Regions from separate parts of the Homo sapiens genome. Here regions 1, 3, 4 and 5 are each linked to region 2. Evidence: promoter capture Hi-C in 16 types of primary human blood cells and fetal thymus (Javierre and others, 2016). All regions are on one chromosome and are shown on one strand. Each heading gives the region's core, a stretch centred on a gene start or on the middle of the fragment in contact. The rest is flanking DNA. Distances are from core to core; before and after follow the strand shown.

The links. Contacts are between HindIII fragments. The CHiCAGO score rates a contact against its expected background, and 5 or more counts as called.
Region 1: a fragment that was not itself captured here is called in contact with the fragment with the promoter of LINC01181 in region 2 in 1 of 17 cell types (erythroblasts); the score reaches 5.4 in erythroblasts.
Region 3: a fragment that was not itself captured here is called in contact with the fragment with the promoter of LINC01181 in region 2 in 2 of 17 cell types (megakaryocytes and endothelial precursors); the score reaches 8.6 in megakaryocytes.
Region 4: a contact is called between a fragment that was not itself captured here and the fragment with the promoter of LINC01181 in region 2, in 1 of 17 cell types (megakaryocytes). The highest score is 6.0, in megakaryocytes.
Region 5: a contact is called between a fragment that was not itself captured here and the fragment with the promoter of LINC01181 in region 2, in 3 of 17 cell types (megakaryocytes, naive B cells and total B cells). The highest score is 6.4, in megakaryocytes.

The regions. Positions count from the first base shown.
Region 1 is chr8:103,354,660-103,360,024 of GRCh38, forward strand. No RefSeq gene overlaps it. Among named protein-coding and RNA genes, the nearest start is that of CTHRC1, 14 kb to the right of the region's middle. The HindIII fragment of the contact is 7,742 bases long and covers 1-5,365 here.
Region 2 is chr8:103,117,367-103,122,673 of GRCh38, forward strand. LINC01181 (long intergenic non-protein coding RNA 1181) reads left to right here and starts at 3,666. Exons shown (of 6, transcript NR_145429.1): 1 at 3,666-3,847. RefSeq lists an enhancer at 4,703-5,204. The HindIII fragment of the contact is 1,509 bases long and covers 2,317-3,825 here.
Region 3 is chr8:103,270,259-103,275,603 of GRCh38, forward strand. The region is part of intron 1 of LOC105369147 (a long non-coding RNA gene); the gene reads right to left. Among named protein-coding and RNA genes, the nearest start is that of FZD6, 26 kb to the right of the region's middle. The HindIII fragment of the contact is 6,521 bases long and covers 1-5,020 here.
Region 4 is chr8:103,313,492-103,318,448 of GRCh38, forward strand. The region is part of intron 2 of FZD6 (frizzled class receptor 6); the gene reads left to right. Among named protein-coding and RNA genes, the nearest start is that of SNORD173, 7.0 kb to the left of the region's middle. The HindIII fragment of the contact is 3,824 bases long and covers 1,547-4,957 here.
Region 5 is chr8:103,334,257-103,339,058 of GRCh38, forward strand. No RefSeq gene overlaps it. Among named protein-coding and RNA genes, the nearest start is that of SNORD173, 28 kb to the left of the region's middle. The HindIII fragment of the contact is 608 bases long and covers 2,545-3,152 here.

The DNA.
Region 1 (5,365 bases), core at 568-3,067, 240 kb after region 2:
ATTATAGTGGTTATAATGCCACTAAGATTGCCTTGGTTTTCAGTAGCCATATCAGCCCAGCCTTGATAATTGTAAATATGGAGCAGTATAATCATAATTAAGCCAGGCCAGGCGCGGTGGTACACACCTGTAATCTGAGCAGTTTGGGAGGCTAAGGCCAGCAGATCACCTGAGATCAGGAGTTTGAGACCAGCCTGGCTAACACGGTGAAACCCCATCTCTACTTAACAAATACAAAAAATTAGCTGGGCATGGTGGTGTGCGCCTGTAGTCCCAGCTATTCGGAAGGCTGAGGCATAAGAATCACTTGAACCAAGAGGCAGAGGTTGCAGTGAGCTGAGATCATGCTCCTGTACTCCAGCCTGGGCGACAGACTGAGACTCTGTCTCAAAAATGAAAAAAAAAGATAATTAGAGTAGAAATGCAGGATTTTGTCTTTGTCTATGTGCATGAATATGGGGTGGCAAGGCAGGGTGACTGGGAGGTAGCCCAGGAATGTTATATTCCAGCCATAAACTTGAAATGTTGTCAGACACTTAATATAGGGTTACCAAGATGCAGAGATTCCTGGAGACATATTAAGCAGATGCTGAGGATATACCCCGGCTCTTAGAAGAATTCTACCTGAAAGAAAAGGTAGAAAGGAGTAAGGCAAGGGTGCAAATTTCCTGTGATACCCAAGGGAGCAATCACCTTAACAATTAAGGCCCATGCCAAGCACTCCAGTTATCTGATGAAGAAATTTTACCATGAAACCATGAAGGGGTAGAGCCCCACGTCATCCCGTCTTACCCCTAGCATGACAGTCACATACAACTGGTGGTAGCATCTAACCTGGTGCATTTAAACCCCAAAAGAAAATTTGTATATAGCTGGGATTAGTAGATGTGTATATCTGTTTAATGGATACATGAGAATTTTTATTATCTCTCATTTTTCAATTTCCAGTGATTTTCTTCTGTATAAGAATTCATTGGTTTTCACTTAGCTAGTGAGTAATTCAATATCTGCATGCTTCCCCCTCCCCATTATACCCTCATCTATTCAGCTGATATTTTTCTTGCTTTGGAGCATGCAGCTAGAGCATTATATTGCTATCTCTTCTAGCTTTGGGTCATCTATAAATTTTGAAGCATGCTTTTCTATACAGTCCATAAATTAAGGGATCAACAGTGTCCACAAAAATAGGAATCATTGGCCAGTTGCCATGGCTCTTGCCTGTAATCTCAGCACTTTGGGAGACTGAGGCGGGCAGATCACTTGAGCCCAGGAGCTCAAGACCAGCCTAGGCAACATGGTGAAATCCCATCTCTACCAAAAAAAAAATTACAGAATTTAACCAGCATGGTGGTATGTGCCTGTGGTTCCAGGTACTTGGGTGGCTGAGGTGGGAGGATTGCTTGAGCCCAGATGGAGAAGGTTGCAGTGAGTCGTTATTGCACCTCTGCACTCCGGCCTGGGCAACAGAGTGAGACCCTATCTCAAAAAAAAAAAAAAAAAAAAAAAAGTAGGAATCATTAACTAGCCAAGAGTTAGAAGGAAAAGGTGACAGGAGGATGTTTCTGATAACTCTGATAATACTACCATAGCATCTGATAATATTGCCAATGGATTATTTTCAAATCACAGTAAAGAACATGGGAAGGGAGTTTGCCTAGACTTAATTTTAATTTTCTACACAGTGGTTAGCAAGTCTTCACAACCAGTAATCTCTTTGCCATATTGACAATGAATTATTCCATTATCTCTTGTTTTGTTCTTTGAATAGTTACCAATTTCTTGTTTCGTATGTGTATTAGTCCATTCTCACACTGCTATAAATACCTGAAACTGGGTAATTTATAAAGAAAAAAAGGCTTAATTGGCTCACGGTTCCACAGACTGTACAGGAAGTATGTATGGCTGGGGAGGCCTGAGGAAACTTCCAATCATGGCGGAAGGGGAAGCAGGCATGTCCTACATGGCCGGAGCAGGAGGAAGAGAGTAAAGGAGGAAAAGCTACACACTTGTATTAAACAACCAGATCTCTTGAGAACTCACTCACTATCACCAGAACAGCAACAGGACAATCAGACCCCATGATCCAATCACCTCCCACCAGGACCCTCCTCCAGAATTCGGGGTTACAATTCAACATGAGGTTTGGGTGGGGGCACAAATCCAAACCATATCGGTATCCAAACCTCTTAATCTTTCTATCTCCTGTCACCCATCAATTGCATTTTTTCACTTTTTAGCATTATCTATCGGCTAGTTTAGGGAAAGGTAAAACTATATTCAGCTTGCTTTGCCATTTACTAAAATCCCTGTGATGTGAGGGAGGAGATTAAAATTATTGGCTTATTTGAATTTCCACTACAATAACATGACTTTATACCAACAATGCAATCGCATCTCTAACAGAGGAGCTGGAGAAGAAAAACGAGAAATCATAGTGCAGCTGATGGAGATGGAGATTTGTGGAGGGAGACTGGAGAACTGGACATATTTTTTAAACCTAAGTGTTTTGAGATGCCGTTTCAAAACTCCTGCTTACTTTGGCTTCCTTTTATCAAAAACAGGTGGTTCTTTGTACTTTGAAAGAGACACACAGGCTGCAAAGAGTCATCTGAACTGCTGAGAAATGTCTTTAATCGTGGCCATTTTCAAACACAGATCTGCACAGTGAACAATTTTCTGAGGAATTCTTACAAAGCAGAGTCTGTTCAGAGGATGCTGATTAAAAAAACCTCTGTACACAGAGCATAATGAAGAGGGGAAGAAAGTGCATGGCTTTGTGTAACTTAATAAAAAGGGAGAAAATTTGACCGGAAATGAAAGACTACCCACGTTGAAAGCATATAGTATGCTATGATTCAGAATAAATGAAATAGAATTCTTCCAGGTCTAAGAAATCAGCACTTCCCCCCAGGCACTGCAGAGAGTGTTAGCTTCCAGTTGTATAAATATGCAGAAATAACAAAGGATGCATGTAGAATGTACTTATCATAATGGCAGGCCAGGGACTTTCAGTTATCTTGCACCAGTAACTTAGGGTCTATGATTTTCCAACAACTTGTATTCTCTTAGAACAACAAAAATTCCAATCACTCATAAACTGGTAAGGATGGTGTATATTTAATGTCTATCAGTACAGAGTGTGGGTAGGTTGACCATTTAATACCAATCCAAACAGCCTTGTAATCTAGGTGTTTAGGAATGTGGGTGAAGATGCCACACTGTTGGATTTTATGGCTATTTGTGTGCATGTGAACATGAGCCAGTGAAGGGAGAAATTCAGTAACCTCCTTCTGGGACGTATTGGTGCTGTTTGCCTTCAGATCCATTCTTTGAGCTTCCCTGGCTCTGCTCCAACCTCTGCAGGCTATTTCCAAGGCTCCTGTTTCATAGGCCTTCAGTTGGGCATAGCCAATCAAAGATTGGATGATAGAAATAAGAGAGAAGCCAAAATATTCCTCATCTGCCTTCTCTGCCACAGGTGGCTTTTCTGGCAGTGGCTTCATCTTTTTCACAAGCCCAACATGATTCCAACTTTGACTGGACACCTTAAGTCTCTCCATCTTAGGGGTGGTAGCAGTTTACAAGCTACTGCCAATTTGGGATGGAGGTGCCTAACTGCGCTCTGTTTAGCTTGTAGTCTGTGTGGATGATCCATTTCTCACATTAAATTAACTCTTCTAAAATAATCAGAGTTGTTTGTTTCCCAGATGGACACTGAATGATAAAACTGATGTATAGTTAGGTGTTTTCCACTGAATCATGACTTCCTTTAATCTAGATGGAATCCCCTAATTATCTAACTAAAGTAACAATAGCTAATATGTCTTGAGCACTTTTTTTGTTTTGTTTTTTTTTTTTGTTTTGAGATGGAGTCTTGCTCTGTCGCCCAGGCTGGAGTGTGGTAGTGTGATCTCGGCTCACTGCAACCTCCACCTCCCGGGTTCAAGCAATTATCCTGCCTCAGCCTCCTGAGTAGCTGGGATTACAGGTGCATGTCACCACACCTGGCTAATTTTTGTATTTTTAGTAGAGACAGGGTTTTGCCTTGTTGGCCAGGCTGGTCTTGAACTCCTGACCTCATGATCCACCCACCTCGGCCTCCCAAAGTGCTGGGATTACAGGCGTGAGCCACCGTGCCTGGCCTCCCAGTTGGTCTTCACATAATAATTGTATGAAGAAGGTACTAACACTATCCTCATTTGAGGAATTTGAAATTCAATTAGATTTTAGGTAACTTGTCCAAGATCATGCTCATTAAGTAGCTGAGTCAGAATTCAACCATCGTTTGTATAACCAAGGTCCAGTGTTCTCACTTTTAATCACTGTATTATGTTGCCTTTGAACATATTGTACTTATAAAAAATGTAGCTAGGCTGGGTACGGTGGCTCACACCTGTTGGGAGGCCAAGGCAGGAGAATCACTTAAGGCCAGGAGTTTGAGACCAGCCTGGTCAACATAGCCAGACCTTGTCTCTATAAAAACAAAAAATAAAAATTAGCCAGGTGTGGTGGTGTGTACCTGTCATCCTAGCTACTTGGGAGGCTGAGGTGGGATAGGATTGCTAGAGCCCAGGAGATTGAGGCTGCAGTAAGCTATGATCATACACTGCACTCCAGCTTGGGCAACAGAGAAAGACCTTGTCTCAAAAAATAAAAAAAGTGGATAAAAGTCAAGTATCTTACAATTAAAACACTTGTGTTACAGGAAATAAAAGAACTTACGGAATCATATTACTGAAAAGTACCAGCTCACTTCAAGGCAGGGTCCAAACAATGTTTTGGGTCTTTATGTCTTTCTTTCTCTCTATCTCTTGGAAGAGCTCTCTCCAGTGGCAGACAAAACAGCAACTGGCAGCCCAAACTCATACTCTGCCAGCTTAGGAAGGCCAGCAGAAAGAGCCAGCATTTGCTGCAAATGGCTTTAAAAATAAAAAATCCTAGGGAAAGCCCTGATTAGTCTGGTTAAGATCATCTGCTCATCTCTGAACCAATTACTGTGGCTAAGTGAATGGGGCCCTGCAATTGCTGGGGCCTGGATAACACACCCCATCTCAGTGGTGGTGGGTCAAAGTCCTACTTGACCTACAGAGAATGAGAATGGGTTCCTTACTCTAAAGAAGAATTCTGTCACCAGAAGAAATCAAAGTGGTTTTAAAAACACAAAGGCAAAGGCTGTTCAACAGAGGAGAGTTCACATCCCTTCTGGACCACAGAAATATAATGAATTCCCTAGATATTTCCCACTCTTGGTAAACAATGTTTGAAACATATTTTCCTCATTTTGCACATGTTCTTTAGTTTTTATATTGTCATGCCCTGGGTTATTTTCTATTGTTTTCAACTCTAAGCCCTCCCTCTATACCCT
Region 2 (5,307 bases), core at 2,416-4,915:
AGTCTTCATTGCAAAATGACATAGAGATAGAGAGGGTTGCTGGAGGAACCGGTGGTTCCAGCCATCAGCTATTTGAGGCTTCTCATCCTAGGTGCAGACACACCAGTGACCCTTCAGAGAATTCTAGCCCCAGTCACCATCTGACCGTACCTGCATGAGAGACAGAACCCCTAGACTCATGAGGTAATAATAAATTATTGTTATTGTTTGAAGCCATGAAGTTTTGGGCTGATTTGTTATGCAGCACTGGCTAATGGATACAATATTTAATGTTTGGCAGGTATTGATGATGAGTCACTTACTATGCTAAATGCTTTGCAGGGATTACCTCATTTAATTCTGATTATCCCAGAGATAAGCATTTTTATCCACCCTGAGAGAAGTTAAGTGATCTGTCCAATGTCACACAACAGTCAATCTGATATTTCAATCCAGACAGTCAGACTCTAGAGCTCCGAGCATGCAAATACTAAGCCCTACCACATGTAGCGCTCCCCATATTCACTGCTTTTCTGCTGGGTAACAGCATCCCCTCTGACCCTGGCACACCCATTGCTCTGTCCTCCAGCAGCACAGAAGCATGGTGGGTGAGCAGACAGGTGCCAGCAAGGCCATATGGATCCAGCCAATGCTGAACCGCAATATTATCATTTTATTCCTTTGGCTTTAAGACTATGTGTTGTGTTTTTTAACTGGTGGTGACAGTGGTGGATGGAGACATGCTATGTCATATTGCCCGTTTGCACTTGATGAGTTTGTAGGATGTCTTCCTATTGGAAGGTTTTAATGACATCTGGGGACAGGAGAGGGAAAGAAAAAGAAAGAAAGAAGAAAAAAGAGAGGGAGGGAAGGAGGGAGGGAGGGAAGGAGGGAGGAAGGAAGGAAGGAAGGAAGGAAGGAAGGAAGGAAGGAAAATAGTGAAAACATGGAACAGACACCCAGAAGGGAAAGGGTTTGGAGGAGGTCGAGGTGCCAGAGGCAAGCATTCATTTGTGTAAGATTCATTCATTCATTCATTCATTCATTCATCGTCATTCAAACATTGTGTTGAATGTCCACTGTATGCTGTGCCCTGCGTGGAATGCTAATGATGGATCTACCCTCTAGCAAAAGGTAAGTCCTACCCTAGTTCATTCGTACAAATAGAGGTGCACACAATGTATCATGGGAGCACTTATTCCTCAACAGGCAGATGGATCAGAAAAGGATTCCTAGAAGAGGCGACAGCTGAGCTGAGGCTTAAAGGATAACACAGTTAACCAGGCCACAGGTGGTGAGTGTCAGGCCAGGAAACAGCACGAGCAAGGGCATGGGATACGGCGCATGGGAGCAGGAGCACTTTTGAGCTGTTGGAGGTAAAATGCAAGTTAGGAAGCACTGAGAGATGAGCCTGGCTTAGAGGTGGCAGCGAGGGCCTTGGTGGTCATTGTCAGAGTTGGAGTTTTGTCTTGTGAGTGATGCGGAGCCACTGAAGGGTCTTCAGGGGACTGTGAGAGACCATACATCACCAGGTCTTCCTCTTTCTTCTGCCAAACTCTGCCCAGGAGGATTTGGTGTCTAAATCCTGCACATTGAAGACCAACCCTTAAAATGAAATTTGTTCAAATTCCAGTGGCAAAATCAGAGAGGAAAATGTTCTATCAGAGAGAGGAAATATTTCCCACCATGTCTGCAGCCCTTAATCCGTGAGGTCAACATGCCCAGCTGCATGGTCTTCTGGCAGAAGTGTTATTGCAGTCATCCACAGCATGCTTCTAGGGGCAGGACTTAATTGAATTTAACAGCAGCTAAATGCTCAGCTAAAAAGAGAAGTTATGGGCTGGGTGCAGTGGCTCACGCCTGTAATCCCAGCACTTTGGGAGGCCGAGGTGGGCGGGTAATGAGGTCAGGAGTTCGAGACCAGCCTGGCCAACATAGTGAAACCCCATCTTTACTAAAAATACAAAAAATTAGCTAGGCATGGTGGCGGGCACCTGTAATTCCAGCTACTCGGGAGGCTGAGGCAGGAGAATCGCTTGAACCCAGGAGGCGGAGATTGTAGTGAGCCGAGATCATGCCATTGCACTCCAGCCCGGGTGACAGTGCAGGATTCTGTCAAAAAAAAAAAAAAGAGAAGTTATGGAAAACTGTGATGCTGCAGTGAAATGAAATCAGGCTGCTATGTGTCAGGCTGCGATGTGGGGCCCTGTGTCCTGAGTCACACACCAAAACAGGAAATCCCCTATTCTCATCTTGAAAAATTTATTAGTAAAATAAAGTAAATAAGACCAAGAAAAATAAGGCTGCTATTATTTGAATCATTTAGTGAAAAAGAAAAGCTTTCTAGAACCAACAGAACATGGTAATGAACACTCTGCCCCCATACTTATCAGTCTGTATTGGCATTTTCTGTGTAACATACCTTTCTTTCCTACTAGAAACAGTTTCTCTAGTTCAGGATCTATGTCTTATTTATCAACTCCCAAAACTGTCCCTTCTTTGAATTCCTTTGATACTTAATACCCAAGTCACTCATTTGGCATTTATGTTACCTTGTATGGTCTATTGTATTTCTATTCTGTTTATACATAGTGACTCTTGAACTAGACTATAAACTCCTTCGAGGTAGAAGTCTTGCTTTGAACATTTTGTGTCCCCATTTGTTATTTGTTGAAAACAAGGCATGCCAAGGAAGGTGCTAAGGGCTGGATATGGGATAAGAGACCCTGGTCTACCTTTGGGGATTCACAATCTGGGGAATTTCCTCAGGCAGGGCACAAAACCTATGAGACAATCCTGCTTTCCTGCTGAACTTGGACCTGGGACAGGGTGGGGATGGGTGAGGCTGGAGCTGCTGCAGCAGCGTGCCTCCAATGCCTATAAATTTCCTGTTGGCTCTCATCCGTCTGGGCTGAATTTTCTATCAACCAATAGAAAATACAGACAGGTATTATGAAAGAGGGTGTTAGGAAATCCCATGCAATTATTATACATGTCACAAATGTGTGGGTGCATATGCACCTGTGAGTGTGTGACAGACAGAGAGGGAGGAAGAGCACTAGGAGGAAATGCCATCTGAACTGAATCTTGAAAGACAAACGGGAGTTAACGAAAGATGTTCCTGAGAGAGTGGCAGGTCTGTGCTTGCATCCTGATGTCAGAGTCAGATAAACTCCAGAAGCCTCAGGGCCTCTGCACTCTATCCCAGTGCTTCCCCAAACTCCTGTTGAGGGCAGACTCTTTTAGAATATGTTAACGAATGGATGTGCAGAAGAAAACTATCTTCTGAGAACAAAATTGCTCTAGTTTCTGCATTGCTGGTTTTCTCTGAACCTTTAATATGCTGATAGGCACTCAACAACAGAATCCTTTGTTGGCAGAGCACAAATTACCCTCTGTCTGTTGAACAGTTTCAGAAAGTTTATGAAGCACTTTTCAATGAGGTGTGGAGTAATAAATGATTCAGCAACACTTAAGTCCTGCCACCCTAGGCCTAACTGGTTACACTGTCATGAAAATTTACAAATTACATGGTACCAAAGACAATATAAACACAATCTATTGGGTAAACAATTGCATGATGGATTACTGTAGACTTATCAATAGTTATGGCATAATTCAGTCTTTATTTTTGCATATGAAAGGCTCTCACGCAAGCATTTTTCTGTAGCTCATTGGAATACAGTACAGATGGCCTGGATCAGTGCAATGTGCAACAAGAGGACTATATCGTCTCAGTAAAAACCTTGAAGAGATGAACCCATTTCAGAGACCCAGCAAGGGATCACCTGCATATACAGGCATCAGCAGAAACAGGAATTTGGGATTTATCCTGGAGGTAGTGGAAGCTTTTGGAGGTCTTAACCAGGTGAATGCAATGATTGGGTATATTTTAGAAAGCTCATTCACAGGGAGAGAGGACTTGAAGCGGGGTTGTTACTAGAGACAAAGAAACTAGTTAGGAAGTTATTTCAGGTAATGAGGGAGACATAATTTAGGGGCTAAACCAAGGAAGTGACAATAGGAATGGAGAGAAGGCACAGCTTGCGAAGCATTTAGGTGGTAGAACTGATTGACTCAGCTCTGAGGCAGCTGTGGGGGTGAGAAGCTGGGGTGGGTGAGGGTGGGAAGAGGGTGGGGAGGGTTGGAGGAGTCAAGAATGAACCATGACTTCTGGTTCGTGCAACAGAGTGAAGAGCTGAGGCCCCATGGTTTCCAGGCAGCCTGTGCCAGTGAGAGAAATGCAGAATAGAGTTTGATTTGAACTCTGGCTCTGTCAACGACTTGGTACTATGGCCTTGTGCAAGCAAGTTAACGTCTCCAAGCCTTACTTTTATCTTTTGTAAAATGGGACGATGATACCCCGCTCTTGCATGTGTGAAATAACTAACACATAGTCTGTGCTTCAGAAGTGAAGTCACTGCTACTCAGAGAACACAGAAGGAGAAGCAGTTTACAGAGAAAGATGAGTTTCATTTCAGAAACACTGCACTTGAGGTGGCTTGGACAGCCATGTGGAGGTGTCCAGTAAGGCATTAGATATATAGGTATGGAACTCAGGAGAAAGATCTGGGCTGGAGAGAGTTCTAGGGGCCACTGACTTTTTGATATTAGGCCAAGGCAAGGAGGTAAATGAGAACAACCAGAGAGAGTGTGGAGAGGGAGAGAAATGCAGGCCCTAACGGACGGCCTTGGGAGCATCACCATTCAACAGCTGAGGAAAGGAAGCAGAGCCGGCAAGGGAGATGTTCTGGAGCCTGCAGGGCTGTGCAGTCAGAAGGAGGCGCAAACCAGAATCTGAAGACGCAGGTTTGAGTCTCAGCTCCCTTGCTGACTAGCTGTGTGATCCTCGCAATTCAGGTAACCTCTGTAAGCTTGTCTTCTCATTCGTCAAATGGGAATGCTGCTGATAATGTCTACTTCCTGGAGACTTTGGTGAGCTAAGGTGTATAATTTTTTTTTTTAAGCTAGAGAGCCTTATAAGTGGTTCCATGTGGTCATTTTTTCCCCCTAGACTGAATCGGCTTACATCTAAAAGCAAGGTCACTTTAAGAGGGTCTCTGTGACTCTGGCCTTGCTTGCTCAGCAGGAATTCCAGCCTGCTCAAATTCCTCTAGGCAGCTCTGGGATCCCTGGGCAGGAGGTACAGTACCTGATGCCTGAGTGCCCCAAACCCCTTCCGAGGAAACGGGGCCTTAAGCACAGGCCCTCACGTTGTCCCACTTGACTTCACCACCCTGGCTACACCTGGTGGGAATTGGGATGGGCCCTGTTCCCAGGGGAGCTGACCAGCTGACCAGCCGACCAGCCAGCAGCTCCCCACGTCTG
Region 3 (5,345 bases), core at 510-3,009, 150 kb after region 2:
GGAGGAGGGGTCTGGTGGGAGGTGACTGAATCATGGTTGGGGGATTTCCCCTGTGCTGTTCTCATGATAGTGAGTTCTCACAGAATCTTGTTGTTCAAAAGTGTGTAGCACCTCCCCACTTTGCTCTCTTCCCCTTCCTCTAAACATGTAGGACATGTCTGCTTCACCTTCACCTTCTGCTATATTCTAAGTTTCCTGAGGCCTCCCCAGCCATGCTTCCTGTACAACCTGTGGAACCATGAGCCAATTAAACCTCTATAAATTATCCTATTACAAGAAGTTCTTTTTAGCATTGTGAAAATGGACTAATATAGAAAATTGGCAACAGAGAGGTGAGTCATTGTTATACATATACCTGAAAATGCAAAAGCAATTTTGGAACTGGGTAACAGGCAGAGGTTGGAACAGTTTGGAGGGGTCAGAAGAAGAAAGGAAGATGAAGTAAAGTTTGGAGCTTCCTAGAGACTTGTTAAATTGTGACCAAAATGCTGACAGTGAAATGGACAATAAAGTCCAGGCTGAAGTTGTCTCAGATGGAGATGAGGAACTTATTAGGAATGGAGCAAAGGTCACCTTTGCTATGCTTTAGCAAAGAGACTGGTGGCATTGTGCCCATGCTCTAGGGATCTTTGGAACTTTGAACTTGAGAGTGATGATTTAGGGTATATGGCAGAAGAAATTTTTAAGCAGCAAAGTATTCAAGAAGTGACCTGGCTGCTTCTAATATGGTCGTATGCATGAGCAAAGAGATGATCTACAACTGGAACTTGTATTTTAAAGGGAAGCAGAGCATAAAAGTTTACAAAATTTGCAGCCTGACCATGTGATAGAAAAGAAAAATCCATTTTCTGGGGAGGAATTCAATCCAGCTGCAGAAATCTGCATAAGTAAAGAGGAGCCAAATGTTAACAGCCAAGATAATGGGGAAAAGAACTGGAAGGCATTTCAGACCTTCACAGCAGCCTCCCTGCCACACAGGCCCAGAGGCCTAGGAGGGAAGAGTAGTTTCAGAAGTCAGGCCTGAGGCCCTGCTGCCCTGTGCAACCTCAGGACATTTCTCCCTACGTCCCAGACAGTTCAGATCCAGCCTTGGCTTAAAGGGCCCCAGATACATCTCAGGCCACACTGCTCCAGAGGGTGCAAGTCATAAACCTTGGTGGCTTCCATGTGGTATTAAGCCTGCAGGTGTGCAGAGGACAAGAGTTGAGGCTTGGGAGCCTTCATCTGGATTTCAGAAGCTATATAGAAACATCTGGATGTCCAGGCAGAAGTCTGCTGTGGGGGTGGAGCCCTCATGGATAACCTCTTCTAGGGAAGTGTGGAGGGGAAATGTGGGGTTGGAGTTCCCACACAGAGTCCCCACTGGGGCACTGCTCCTCTGTGAGGAGAAGGCCACAATCCTCCAGACCCCAGAATGGTAGATCCACTGACAACCTGCATCATGTGTCTGGAAAAGCCACAGACACTCAACACCAGTCCATGAAAGCAGCCCTGGGGACTGTACCCCACAGTGGCACAGGGGTGGAGGTGCCCAAGGCCTTGAGAGCCCACCCCTTGCATCAGTGTGGCCTGGCTGTGAGACATGAAGTCAAAGGAGATTATTTTGGAGCTTTGAGATTTAATGACTGCCCTACTGGATTTCAACTTGCATGGGCCTGGTAGCCCCTTTGTTTTAGCCAATTTTTCTCCCTTTTGGAATGGGAGCATTTTCCCAATGTCTGTACCCCCCATTGTATCTTGGAGGTAACTAACTTGTTTTGATTTTACAGGCTCATAGGCAAAAGGGACTTGCCTAATCTCAGATGAGACTCTGGACTTAGGCTTTTGAGTTAATGCTGGAATGAGTTAAGACTCTGGGGGACTGTTGAGAAGACATGATTGTGTTTTGAAATGTGAGAAGAACATGAGATTTGGGAGGGGCTGGGGGCAGAAAGATATGATTTAGCTCTGTGTCCCCACCCAAATCGCATGTCAAATTGTAATCTCCAGTGTTGGAGGAGGGGCCTGGTGGGAGGTGACTGGATCATTGGGGCGGATTTCCTCTTTGCTGTTCTCACGATAGTGAGTGAGATCTAATGAGATCTGGTTGTTTAAAAGTATCTAGCACCTCCCCATTCACTCTCTTCCTCCTGCTCCAGCCATGTAGGGCATGTCTGTTTCCCCTTCACCTTCTGCCATGACTGTAAGTTTCCTGAGCCCTCTCCAGCAATGCTTCCTGTACAGCCTGTGAAACCATGAGCCAACTAAACCTCTTTTCTTTATAAATTACCTTGTCTCTGTAGTTCTTTACAGCAGTATGAGAACAAGCTAGTATACACATTTTCTCCACATCCTCACCAACATTTGTTATTGTCTTTTTTTTCTCATAACCATACTAGCATGTGTGAAGTGGAATTTTGTTTTAGTTTTTATTTCCATTTTCCCAATGATGTTGAGCATCTTTTCATGTGTTTATTGGCCATTTATATATCTTCTTGGGAGAAATTACTATTTAAGTACTTTCCTCATTTTTTACCAGGTTATTTGTTTTATTGTTGAGTTGTAAGAGTTTTCCATATGTTCTTGATACAATAACCTTATTAGACACGTGATTTCCAGATTTCTCCCATTCTGTCAGTTATTTTTCATTGTCTTCATACTTTCTTTGAAGCACAAAAGGCTTTAATTTTTCGGTAGTCCAATTTATTTATTTTTCTTTGGTTTCTTGTGCTTTAGGTGCAATATCTAAGAAACCACTGCCTAACCCAAGTTCATAAAGATTTACTCCTATACTTTCTTCTAAGAGTTTTATAGCTTTAGCTTTTACATTTAGGTCTTTGATGCATTTTGAGTTAATTTTCGTGTATGATGTGAATAAAGGTCTACATCCATTCTTCTGCATGTGGATATCCTTTGCAGAAAAGACTATTCTTTCACCTATTGATGTCAAAACTAAACTAACCAGGGATTTATGAGTTTATTTCTGGACTCTCCATTCTATTCCATTGATCTATATGTCTATCCTTATGCCTATAACACACAATCTTGATTACTTGAAGTTTGTGGTAAGTTTTGGAATCAGGAGTGTGAGTACTCCAAATTTGTTCTTTTCATGTCATTATTGTTTTGGCTATTCTAGATATCTTTCATTTCCATATGAATTTTAGGATCAGGTTTTCCATGAGGTGTATACCATAAGTTTCCATATATTATGTTTTGTTTTCATTCATCTTGAATATTTTCTAATTTTCCTTGTGATTTTTTTCTTCAAACCATGGTTAATAACATGTTGTTTAATTTTTACATATTTGCCAGTTTCCCATGTCTGTTATTGATTTCTAATCTAATTCCACTATGATTGGAAAAGATACTTGGTATTATTTCATTCTCCTTAAATTTATTGAGGTTTGTTTTGTGACCTACCATATAGTCTATTATGTTCCATGTTCACTTGAGCAAAATGTGTATTCTGTTGTAAATGTGTATTCTTGAGCAAAATGTTGATGGAGTGTGTCCTATATATCTCTGTTAGGTCAGGTTGGTTTATGGCCCCATTCAACTCTTTCATCTCCTTATTGATCTTCTGCCTCATTTTTCTATCCATTATTGAAACTGGAGTATTGAAATCTCCAACTATTATTGGGAATTCGGGGGGAGGTTTTATTGTCATTATTGTTGTTTTGAGACAGGATCTCACTGTGTTGCCCAGACTGTAGTGTAGTGACCATTATAGTCCACTACAGCCTTGAACTCCTGGGCCCAAGTGATCCTCCTGCCTCAGCCTCCCAAGTAGCTGGAACTATAAATGCACACCACCAAGCCCAGTTTATTGTTTTTTGTAGAGATGGGGTCTTGCTATGTTGTCCTATTGCCTTCTGGCCTTCACTGTTGTGGTGAAAAACTGGCTGTTAATCTTAGGATTTCCTTGTATGTGATGAATTATTTTTATCATGCTGTTTGCAAGACTTTCTTTTTGTCTTTCCACATTTTAAAAGTGGAAAGTGATTGTGTTTATCTTACTTGGAATTCACTGACCTTCTTAGAGGTATATGTTTTCTATCAAATTTGGGAAATTTTCAGCCATTGTTTCTTCAAAAATGTTTTCTGTCCTTTTTCTCCTCTAATTTGGTGACTCACACTAATGTATATGTGGGTGTCCTTAATAGTGTCTCACATTTTTCTGAGACTTTGTTCCTTGTTCTTTATTCTTTATTCTGTCTGTTTTTCAAACTGAATCATCTCAAAAGATCTATCTTCAAGTTCAATGTTTCTTTCTTCTACAAGCTCAAATCTACTCTTGAACCCCTCTAGTGAATTTTTGATTTCAGTTATTGCAATTTTCAACTCCAAATTTCCACTTGGTTATTTTAAATAATATCTGTACTTTTATTGATATTCTCTATTTTATGAGACATTGTCATCATACCTTCTTTTAATTCTTTAAGTATGGTTTTCTTTAGCTCTTTTAACATATTTAGAATTGCTTCTTTAAAGTCTCTGTCTGCGTAGTTTATCATCTGGGTCCTTTTGAAGTCAGTTTCTATTTCTACTAATTCTTTTCCTATGTATGGGTAACAGTTTCCTGGTTCTTAGTATGTCTCATAATTTTTTTGAAAACTGGAAATTTTAATTAATGTAACAACTCTGGATACAGATTCCCTCTCACCCCACCCCAGGAGAGTGTTGTTTTCCTTGTCATTTGCTTATTTGTTAGGTGATTTAGCTGAACTAATGCCATGACGTCTCTTTCCCCTGCAGTGTGCAGCCTCTGATGTCTCTGCTCAGATTTTTTTCCCCTTGATTTTATCTTTTAACCTGGATACCTACAGATTGTCCTTGGATTGGCATAAGCAACTTACTGGTCAAAGGTTGTGCTTAAGTTCATTCAGCTAGTTAGATTTGTACTCTAATACTGGATGTATGTGTGATTTGTAAACTATTGTCACAATTCAGGGAGTTTATTTTTATTTATTTTTGTCCTACATTTAGCCAGTGATAACTAGCTTGAAGATTCCCTCTCTGATCATTCCTAGGAGGACAAAGCTTTGGGCATGCACACATTATTCCAGAGAGCCAAGGATGACTATGATTATTTTTAAGCCTGACTTCCTAGGAGTCATCCTTGTGGCAAAGTAGTATATTGTGTAGTCAGTATTTGCTCATGGGGTTATGTTTAAGTCACTTGTGTTGATGAGTCTGTGTGCAGGTTGGGGAATGCTTTCAAGTCTGTGCATGTCTTGCTCTGATTGCTCCTGAGTGGGTGCAACCTAGCATAGGTACACAGCTTTCCTGATCCCCAGAGTTGTCTGTGATCCCAGAAGAGCTCTTCTTAGTTATCTCTTTGCCGTCTCTTGGTTTTTCTGCCA
Region 4 (4,957 bases), core at 2,209-4,708, 200 kb after region 2:
CAGCAGGGAGAGCTTCCTTTTCAGCCCAAGAAACTATGCCTTTATTTATTTAGTATATCGGCCTCCTTTTAACTTCTTATTTAAAGAAAATGTTTCTTGGCAAAGTGTGCATGTGTGCACACACAGACACACATACACTTCGAAAATAATTAACTTAAAGGTTTTCTCTCAAGTCCCTTCCAAGTCTAAAATTCTTTAAGTCTATTCATCTGCAACTGAACTTGGAAGTTGGTAGCCCACACTGGATCTGACCTGAGACTTGATTTTTCTGTGTGTGTGTGTGTGTGTGTGTGTGTGTGTGTGTGTGTGTGTCAGGGAAGGGGGGGGCCCTGTTTCAAATGTATAGATTAAAGTGCCAAAATCTAAAATTTGGGAAATTACACATAACAATCTAGGTTCTGTTTTCTTAGGAAAAATGGATATACCTGACAATTCTATGCCCCCATTTCCAAATAATAGTCTGCTGGAGTTGAGTAGCAGCAGCTTCCCAAATACTCCCTATCATCTTACAGGCATTTTCATTTACCTGCCTGGCCTCTGAAGGTATCTGAGTTTTCAGCATTCAGTTTATCCTCTACACAGTGCAGGAACATCAACATTATTGGATTAGCCAACTTTGGCACTGTAAAAGAATTAAATTAGGGAAGTGACTTGTGTTTTCCATGTAAGAAAATTGTTTTTGTATAGCAAAAGTACATGTATTGCATTCATTTTGCCTGCCCTTGAACTATATAATTACTTCTTAAGTGCTGACCACCAGTTAATCATGGCTTCTGAGTTAGAAGAATTAAATAAACATAGTGTGTTTTAATTCTTTCCACCAAAGGATCTGATTACCACATAGTCAAAAAATTTAGGAACTAGGCTTTTTTGGGACAGTAAACAAAGAGTTTACCACAGTTTACTAGTTGCCCGCAGCTCCCCTTCTCCTACCTCAGGCTCAGAGGAGGATTTGCACACTGTCTGGGCACTCTCTCCCCTTCACGATGGAGGAAACTGAGAAAAGTACTGTGCTGTTTGCACTCCAAGTTCCTGTGAGGTGACAAAGGATCCAATCTCAGAGCATCATTCAAATAAAAGCAATAATATATGTCAACCATGGCAACCCTGTCTCTGCTCAGTCACTTGCCCCATCAGGACAGGGGAACTTCCCACTGGTCCAACATCCTTCATAGCTATTGTCCTCTAATTGTTGGGTGTGGGTTCTGTATATGCCCTTTAAGTCAGACTTGTTAATTGTAGTCTGTAATCAAGGCTTATATTTACCTATTAATTTTTGTCTGCTTGACCGTTCATTTACTAAAGCAGATATATTGAAATTTCTCATGACCATGGAAGTGTCCATTTCTCCTTATAGTTTTATTGCTTTTTGTTTATATGTTTTAAGGCTATTTTTAAGGTGTATACAGTGCTCAGCAATGCATTTCAAAGTATATGTGTTGCACTTTATCCAGAACCTGAATGTTTTGTGGCAGGAGATATTTAGTTGGCCATACTGATGAAAGAAGTTGTCATTCCTTCTTTTTATCTTTCAAAAATTTCCCAAAGCTTATAGGGAGCCCTTTCTTTATTTTTTTAATGCAGTTATGGATTTGTTTTTTACCTTTAAACCTTTTCTTTCATTTCAATGGCATTTCGAGTGGAAGGAGATGCTAATATATAGAGTCAGTGTATTTCCCTTGAATCAGAATTTTCATCTTCTCTCACTCTACTTATTCTCCTTAGGTAATTTCAGCCAGTTATTTCAATTACCACTTTTATACTGATGACTTGTAAATCCATATCCTTAATTTAAAGTCTCACTTCTACGTAGCTTTATTTAACTGCCTGCTAGTAGATATTTCACACTCAAATGTGCACTTCAGACTGTCCATCAACTGGTAAATGGTTAAGAAAATTATGGTACAGCCATACAGTGGAATATTACTCAGCAATTAAAAGGAATGAACTACTGATGCATCAGACAACATGACTGAATCACAAAACAATGATGCTAAGTGAAAGAAGCCAGACAAAAAAGAAAACACACTATATGATTCCACTTACGTAAAATTATAGAAAATACCACTCCGCAGTGACAGAAGGCAGATCAGTTGTTGTCAGGCGTGAGAGTTACTGAGGGGGTGAGGAGGATGGAAGAGCAGGAGGGATGACAAGGGAGCCAGAGGAAACTTCTGGTGGTGAGGGATACATTTATTACCTTGATTGTGATAATCATTTCAAAACTTATCAAATTGTACACTTTATACATGTTCAGTTTATCATACATCAGCTATACCTGAATAAAGCTGGAAAAGAAAACCCTCAATACTAAAAGGCTTTGAACAGAAAAATAACAGTCCTTGCCCACCCTTTTCCACCCATATCCCAGTCCTGCCCTTGAGAGGCAGCCTCTTTGAACTGTTTTAGGTGTTCCTCTGGTATGCAGGCCACATTCTAACTAACAGGTTTACTCTGTTGGTTATAGATTAATCAGTTTAGCACTTTAGGCCGTTTCTGTTTATTCTTTCCTATTAGGGTAATTGATAATTCATTTCTCTTACCCTGCCACTTTTACTTCTCCTCCTGATACAGTTTTTGATTAAATGAATAGTCAGTGATAATATTACTAGAAATATTAAATATTGTACACTGCTGAGTCAGGTAGTATACTTTGATTACATTTATTTTTTTAATACCCTCCCAACAATTAACACAGTAGTTGTATTTTCATTTGTTTTTTATGTAACAATGTCTGACTATTTTTAGATATCCTAACAGACTTGTCATACACCTAGCAGCAATTTTCCTAGTGCTCAAAATAACATATACTCTGTCAATCTCAATCCCCGCTCCTTTCCCTTGGAGACCTTTCTTCTTCAGCCATCTGCCCTTCTGTCAAATGTGTTCTGATTACTTCTGGACTAGATTTGTAGTTGTCACATGGAGAATTTCTCTTGTCATTCTTCAGTGTTGAATCAGCTAATTCCTGGGTCCCATATTATTTTCCTTCCTTGTTTATTCATATATTCCTTCAATTTGTTTCAGGAATATTACATCTTCTAGTTGCTTCCTAAACAGGGATACTTGAAAGTTTAAATTTTGTATTCCTTACAGTGCCAAAAATGTCAGTAGTCTACTCTCTAAATGTTTGGGTGGATCTAGAATTCTAGGTTGAAATGCATTTTTCTTTAGAATTTTATAGTCATTTTTTCATTTTCTTCTAGCTTCTGATATTGTCAAATATTCACAGTTTAATTTAGTTACATGTATTCTGTTTTTTTCCCCCCTCTGGAAACATTTATGACCTTCTCTTTGTCTTGATGCTCTGAAATGTTTTATTGATATGCTTTGTCAGTGTTCATTTATTGTTTTGGAGAATCATGCATTTATTCTGTAAATATAGAGAAATGGCCATGTAGCAGACACTGCTTTAGGCACTGGAGATAGAGCAGTGAACAGAATAGACAAAATCCTTTCCCTCTTTGAATTTACACTCTAGTGGTAAAGGCAAAAATTAAATAAACTAGTACATAATGAAATGCCAGATAGTAATAAGGATTTAAGAGAAATGCAAACCATGGTAATGGGAAAGATAAGAGCAGGATAATTTTAGATAGGATGGGCAGGAATGCCTCTTTGAGGTGAATTGAGTGGAGACTCAAATGAGGGCACAAGACTCACTATCTGGGTGAAGAGGTGAGGGGAACAGCAAGTGCAAAGACTCTGAGACAGAAATACACATGGAACTATAAGAAGTAGAAGTCCAGTTTAGTGGCAATGGAGTAAATAAGAGACAAAGTGGTCAGAAATGAAACTGGAGACATAGCGGGGAACACGGAAATTTAAAGGCTCATGGGAATTGGAAAAGACTTTGGAATTTATTTTACTGGAGTCTTTGAACAAGGATAAACTTACGTTTTAAAGAATCGCATTGGTTGGAAAATTGACTGTAAGATTAGCAAGTGTGGGAAGTAGTGAGACCTGTTAGGAGGCCATTTTAGTAGTTGAGGTGAAAGATAATAGTGGCTTAGACTGGGTGGTAATAGTGAGAAATGGTCAGATTTGGAATATACTTTAAAGGGAGAGCCAACAGGATTTGCTGATGGGTTGGAGATGGAGTGAAAGAAGAGAGGAGTAAAGAATAAGTTGTAAGACCAGCCTGGCCAACATGGTGAAACTTCGTCTCTACTAAAAATACAAAAATTAGCCGGGCGTAGTGGCATGCGCCTATAGTCCTAGCTGCTTGGGAGGCTGAGGCAGGAGAATTGCTTGAACCTGGGAGGCAGAGGTTGTGGTGAGCTGAGATTATGCCACTGCACTCCAGCCTGGGCAACAGAGCAAGACTCTGTCTCAAAAAAAAAAAAAAAAGAAAGAAAGAAAGAAAGAAAAAAGAATGAGTTGTAAGATTCTTGGCCTGAGCAACTTGGTAAATGGTGGCATTATTTACTGAGATGGAGAGTACTAAGGGAGTGTTTGGGAGGCAGAGATACGGTGGGATTGAGTTGTATTTTGCATACTTTGGGTTCAAGATGCCCATTAACAGCCAAATGGAGTTGTCCCGGAGCAGATGCTCATTCAAGTCTGTGGTTCACAGTAGACATGGGGACTGGATGAGTTTCCCTTGAGAGTCAGTAGAGATAGAGAAGAGGTCTTGGGGACTGAGCTCTGGAGCATTTCAATGATCATAATTGGGAAATGGAAGAGGACTAGAAAAGGAACAGCCAGTGAGACAGCCAGAAATCCAAGAGAATTCGTGTCCTAGAAGACAAGTGCAAAAGGGGCCTCAAGAGGAAGCTAGGAGTCACTGTGTCGATTGCTGTTAAGAGCTGAGTAGAAGGGATGTTCAGAATTTACCATCAGATTTGACAATGTGGAGTTTGTTGGTGACTCTGGCAAGTGATTTCACTGGAATAATCCATGTCTTCTTGAAAAATATATGATTGAATAAAATAGTAGTATCCCATTGTGTATGAAG
Region 5 (4,802 bases), core at 1,599-4,098, 220 kb after region 2:
TAGATAAAAACTAAGGAAATTTGAATAAAGCTTAGTCATCCAAATCAGCTAAATGTTCTTTATAATTTTCTTCCTTCTGCTTGCTTTTTCTCACCTTTTAGTCAGATATTGGACTCCTGGATGGATCCTTTAATTTTCTCATCTTTCCTCTCCTTTTGCCAATCTCTTTGGATTTTTTTCTTTGAAACTTTATCAAATGTATTTTTTAATTTTTGATTGAAGTTTTTTTGGCTATCATTTTTTAATTTCACAGCATTTTAAAAATTTTGTTCTTTTTTCATAGTACCTTTTTGTTTTATGATTATTTTATATATAATGTATTTCAAGATACACAATTTACTTTTTAAAGATCATATAGGAAACATTAATTTGTAATATTTATTTTGTAGCAGATGACTTTATTAAAGTCCCTCAATCCCTCTAATAATTTTGCAGTTGATTTTTCCTGGATTTTCTAGGTGGATGATTTTTTCCTCTCAAATAATGGTAATTTTATTCCTCAGCTATTAGCTGGAACTTGTAGCCAGTTAACATTAATAGTAGTAGCAGTAGACATCCTCGTCTTGTTTCTTTATTTTAAAGAAAATGCCTGTAGTACTTCATCATGAAGAACAATGTTGGCATTTGACATAAGATAGGTATTTCTTAATGAGTTAAAAGAATCCTATTCCATCTTATAAGTTTTTAAAAATGAGGAATATGTACTGAATTTTATCAAATGCCCTTTTGCTACCAGGATTAGTCAGTATGAGGCTAACTTCTGTAACAATCCTCAAAATCGCAGTAGCTTTAGAAACTTATTCATGCGACAGGTGTGAATGTTCTTGAGGTAGCCTTCCAAATTCAAGCAACCACCACTTCCATCTTGTGGCTCTGCCATCTCCCACTGAGTAAGAGAGAGAGTAAATGACTGCACAGAAAAAAGCTTCATGAGCTAGAGTTGAAAGTGATATGCAGGCCGGGCGCAGTGGCTCACGCCTGAAATCCCAGCACTTTGGGAGGCGGAGGCGGGCGGATCACGAGGTCAGGAGATCGAGATCATCCTGGCTAACACGGTGAAACCCCGTCTCTACTAAAAATACAAAAAATTAGCCGGGCGTGGTGGCGGGCGCCTGTAGTCCCAGCTACTCAGGAGGCTGAGGCAGGAGAATGGCGTGAACCTGGGAGGCGGAGCTTGCAGTGAGCCAAGATCGCGCCACTGCACTCCAGCGTGGGCGACTGAGCAAGACTCCGTCTCAAAAAAAAGAAAAGAAAAGAAAGCGCCATGCAACATTTCCAGCTGCATTTCATTTACCAGAACTCAGGCATAAATCTAGATGTCTTCCTGAGAGGGAGGAGAAACAGATTTACTAAGCCATTGGCCAGCATTTCAATCTACTAATGTGTTGTGTTAAATAAATTTCCTAACATAATGCCATCCTTTAATTCATTGAATAACCCTACTTGATCATGATGTATCATTTAATACTTCTGGATTTGATTTGTTAGTGATTTATTTAGGAGTTTTAAAATGTGCATCTATATGTACCTATATTCTAAATTATTTACCAGCCCTGGGCAATATTACAATATTTGTAATAAGTAAGTTTGAATTTTAAAACTATTTATTTTTAATAGCAAAATTCAGAAGCATTATTTAATTTTTTTAAAAAGCAATTTTTCTTTTTCATGGGACTAGAGTCTTTGAGGCAAAAAAAAAAAAAAAAAAAAAAAGCCTGCTGTCGACCAGCCTGACCAACATGGTGAAACCCTGTCTCTACTAAAAATACAAAAATTAGCTGGGCGTCGTGGTGGGCACCTGTAATCCCTGCTACTCAGGAGGCTGAGGCAGGAGAATTGCCTGAACCCAGAAGGCAGAGATTGCAGTGAGCCAAGATTGTGCCATTGCACTCCAGCCTGGGTGACACAGCGAGACTCCGTCTCAAAAAAAAAAAAAAGCCTGCTGTCTCAGAAAAGGTGACATTAATTTTTATAAGAATTACATAACAGTTTTCAGCCAAGAAAGTTGGCTTAAATTACATATTTACATTTACAATAACGAAATTGGCACGAGCACTGTGCAGGTAAACCCAAAGCAGCAAAGTCTGCTAGAAACCCTCACTTTGAAAGTCTGCTACAAACCTTCAACAAAATTTTATGAAATGCCATGTTTCAAAAAGACCCAGGATACCCAATGGGATCCACCACTGCTATGCTGTTTATGGTTCTGAAGAAATCTTCCCTACACTTTCTTGATCAAACTAGACTGAAAACAGATCATAATTGCCAGCCATCATCAAAATCACAGTTTTAGTGCTTTCTTACTTTTTTTTTTTTTTTTTAGTGCTTTCTTACTCTTTGATCTTCTCAGAAACTTACCACAGGTGGGTGTTTCCAGTTCCTACTGCTGGAAAGTTTTAACCTTGCCAAGCAGGCAGTTACTCTCAGGAAATGAAAGATACAATTTGTAATAACCACAAGAAGTTCTGCAGTTGCTTTTCTGCATGGAAGGCATGATATTGAATACCTCACTGCCCACTGCACAAGTCAGATACTTAAATTCCAAGCTTTAACCGTGGCCCCTGTGATCTGTCATGTGCAGAAGAATCAAAACTTTCATTAACTTACAGTGAAAATGTGTCGACAAAGAGCAAGAAAAAATTAAAAGATTAATCCAAAATGATCAAAGACATTGGGATCCAGAGCCAGGCGGTAGTGGAGAGAAGCATAGTGAAGTTCGTTATGAATATTACTGAAGGATGGGAGCCAAATGGAAGCAGTATGGAAAGAAATACAATGAAATGAAAATGAGAAAGACTTGTGGCAGTAAATACTAATTAGAAATAAACACAGATGGAAAATTATTGCTAAGGTGAGTAAATTTAGCAGCCAATTCTGAGATTTGTATTTTCTATCCCTAGAAGGAAAAAAGAGCCAGAGAAAACGTTGAAGTGCAGGTTTTCTAATTTTCCACCACAAAAAGAAAAAGGACATGAAGGAGGACAAACCTAGTTAAGTCTTGGTAGAAACGTCTTAGAGAAAGTTTTCAAATAAATTATTTTCTAAACACATGCCATAGTTCATCTTCATTAATACTGAACACACTTTAAGTATTTTCTACTATTTCACTTAGATTAGGTTTTAACAAACATACCTAGTGTAGAGTCTATTAAAGCTTACATTTAATACTTATGTTTATATACTATTAATTATAAGTATAATTATAATACATTTAGAATATGTTGAAAAGAGAGGCACAAAATCAATAGAGATTAAGAAAAAATTTTTTTCTAAAGTTTCAAGAAAATGAAATATCTGAATATCTTCTTTCCCAAGTGCTAACTAGAGTAAAACTGTCTAGTTTGTGGGTTTATTTCCTTAGGGACCTATTCCAGGATCTAATTAGTTTCACTGTGAGGAAATAAGTCTGAATATACATACTACACATTATCTAGAGAAACTCACCAGCAAGGTAAGAGCTTCCCTCATGGTTTTAGTCCTTCCTAACTGTCAGCCCAGTGTCCCCTCATGAGAATTCTCATAAAACAGAAACCTCCAGACTTGTAAACAAAGTTGACCACTGGCAAAACACTTGCTGGCATTTCCAGCCTCTTAACTGCCACCTCTATTAGTGCAGGCTCCATGTGAAAAAGAATGACACTCTGTGTTTCTGGAGCTGACCTTGTTGGCAGGCTGTGGGCAAATAAAAGGATGCAGTAAAACAAAACAGGAGGGCTGTGTTTCCTCAACTGACAGGCATCACTGCCTCCTTGTCATGCATCCTCAGGCTCTGGGGAGGCCTTTCCAGGCTTACCACATGGACAGTGAGCAATCCAAAGGTGTTCTTTTACGAAAGCAAAGACCATGAACGTGGCATACAACACAACCAAGAGTTGGGGGAGGGCGCCTCGGGGGCACTGTAGACAAGGCAGAATCTGGCTACCTGGACAGTCCGAAGAGATCAAACATAATATAAAAACACAGCCTTCACTCAACAAGAGTACGAGTGACAGGGGAGACTGCATTCACCCTTGCAAGGGGGACGAACATCTAAAGAATTAGCAGGTAATCCATATGAAATCTAACTGCACGGACATGGAAGATTCTTGTATTAGTCTGCTCTCACGCTGCTCATAAAGACATACCCAAGATTGGGTAACTTATAAAGAAAAGAGGTTTAACTGACTCACAGTTCCACATGGCTGGGGAGGCCTTACAATCATGGCAGAAGGCGAAGGGGAAGTAAAACACATTTTACATGGCAGCAGGCAAGAGGGCACGTGCAGGGGAACTCTCACCATCAAATCTCATGAGATTTATTCACCATAACAAGAAAAACCTGCCCCCATGATTCAGTTACCTCCCAGTGTGTCCCTCCCATGACATGTAGGGATTATTACAATTCAAGGTGAGATTTGGGTGGGGACATAGAGCCAAACCATATCAATTCCCAAAATATTTTTAAGCACAAAAAAACTTGCAAAATTACACTTACACAATAATACCATGTATATAAACTACATCCACCCCACAAAACCACACTAATATTTTCTATTATTACTTATAAATGTATCTACATGCATAATGATACCATGTGTGTTAACAACCTTCACCCCATAGAATAATACTATATGTTTTCTATGGTTACATGTATATAAATGCATAGGGGAAGTCCAGGAAAATATAGAAACATGGGTTATCTCTGTGGAGGGGGTCAGTATTGTAAGTGATGAACAAAGCAGACTTTAGCCTGATCTGTAATGTTTACATTTTTATAAGGAGACTCTATTAATATATCATATGTCATCATTAAGAATCTGCTT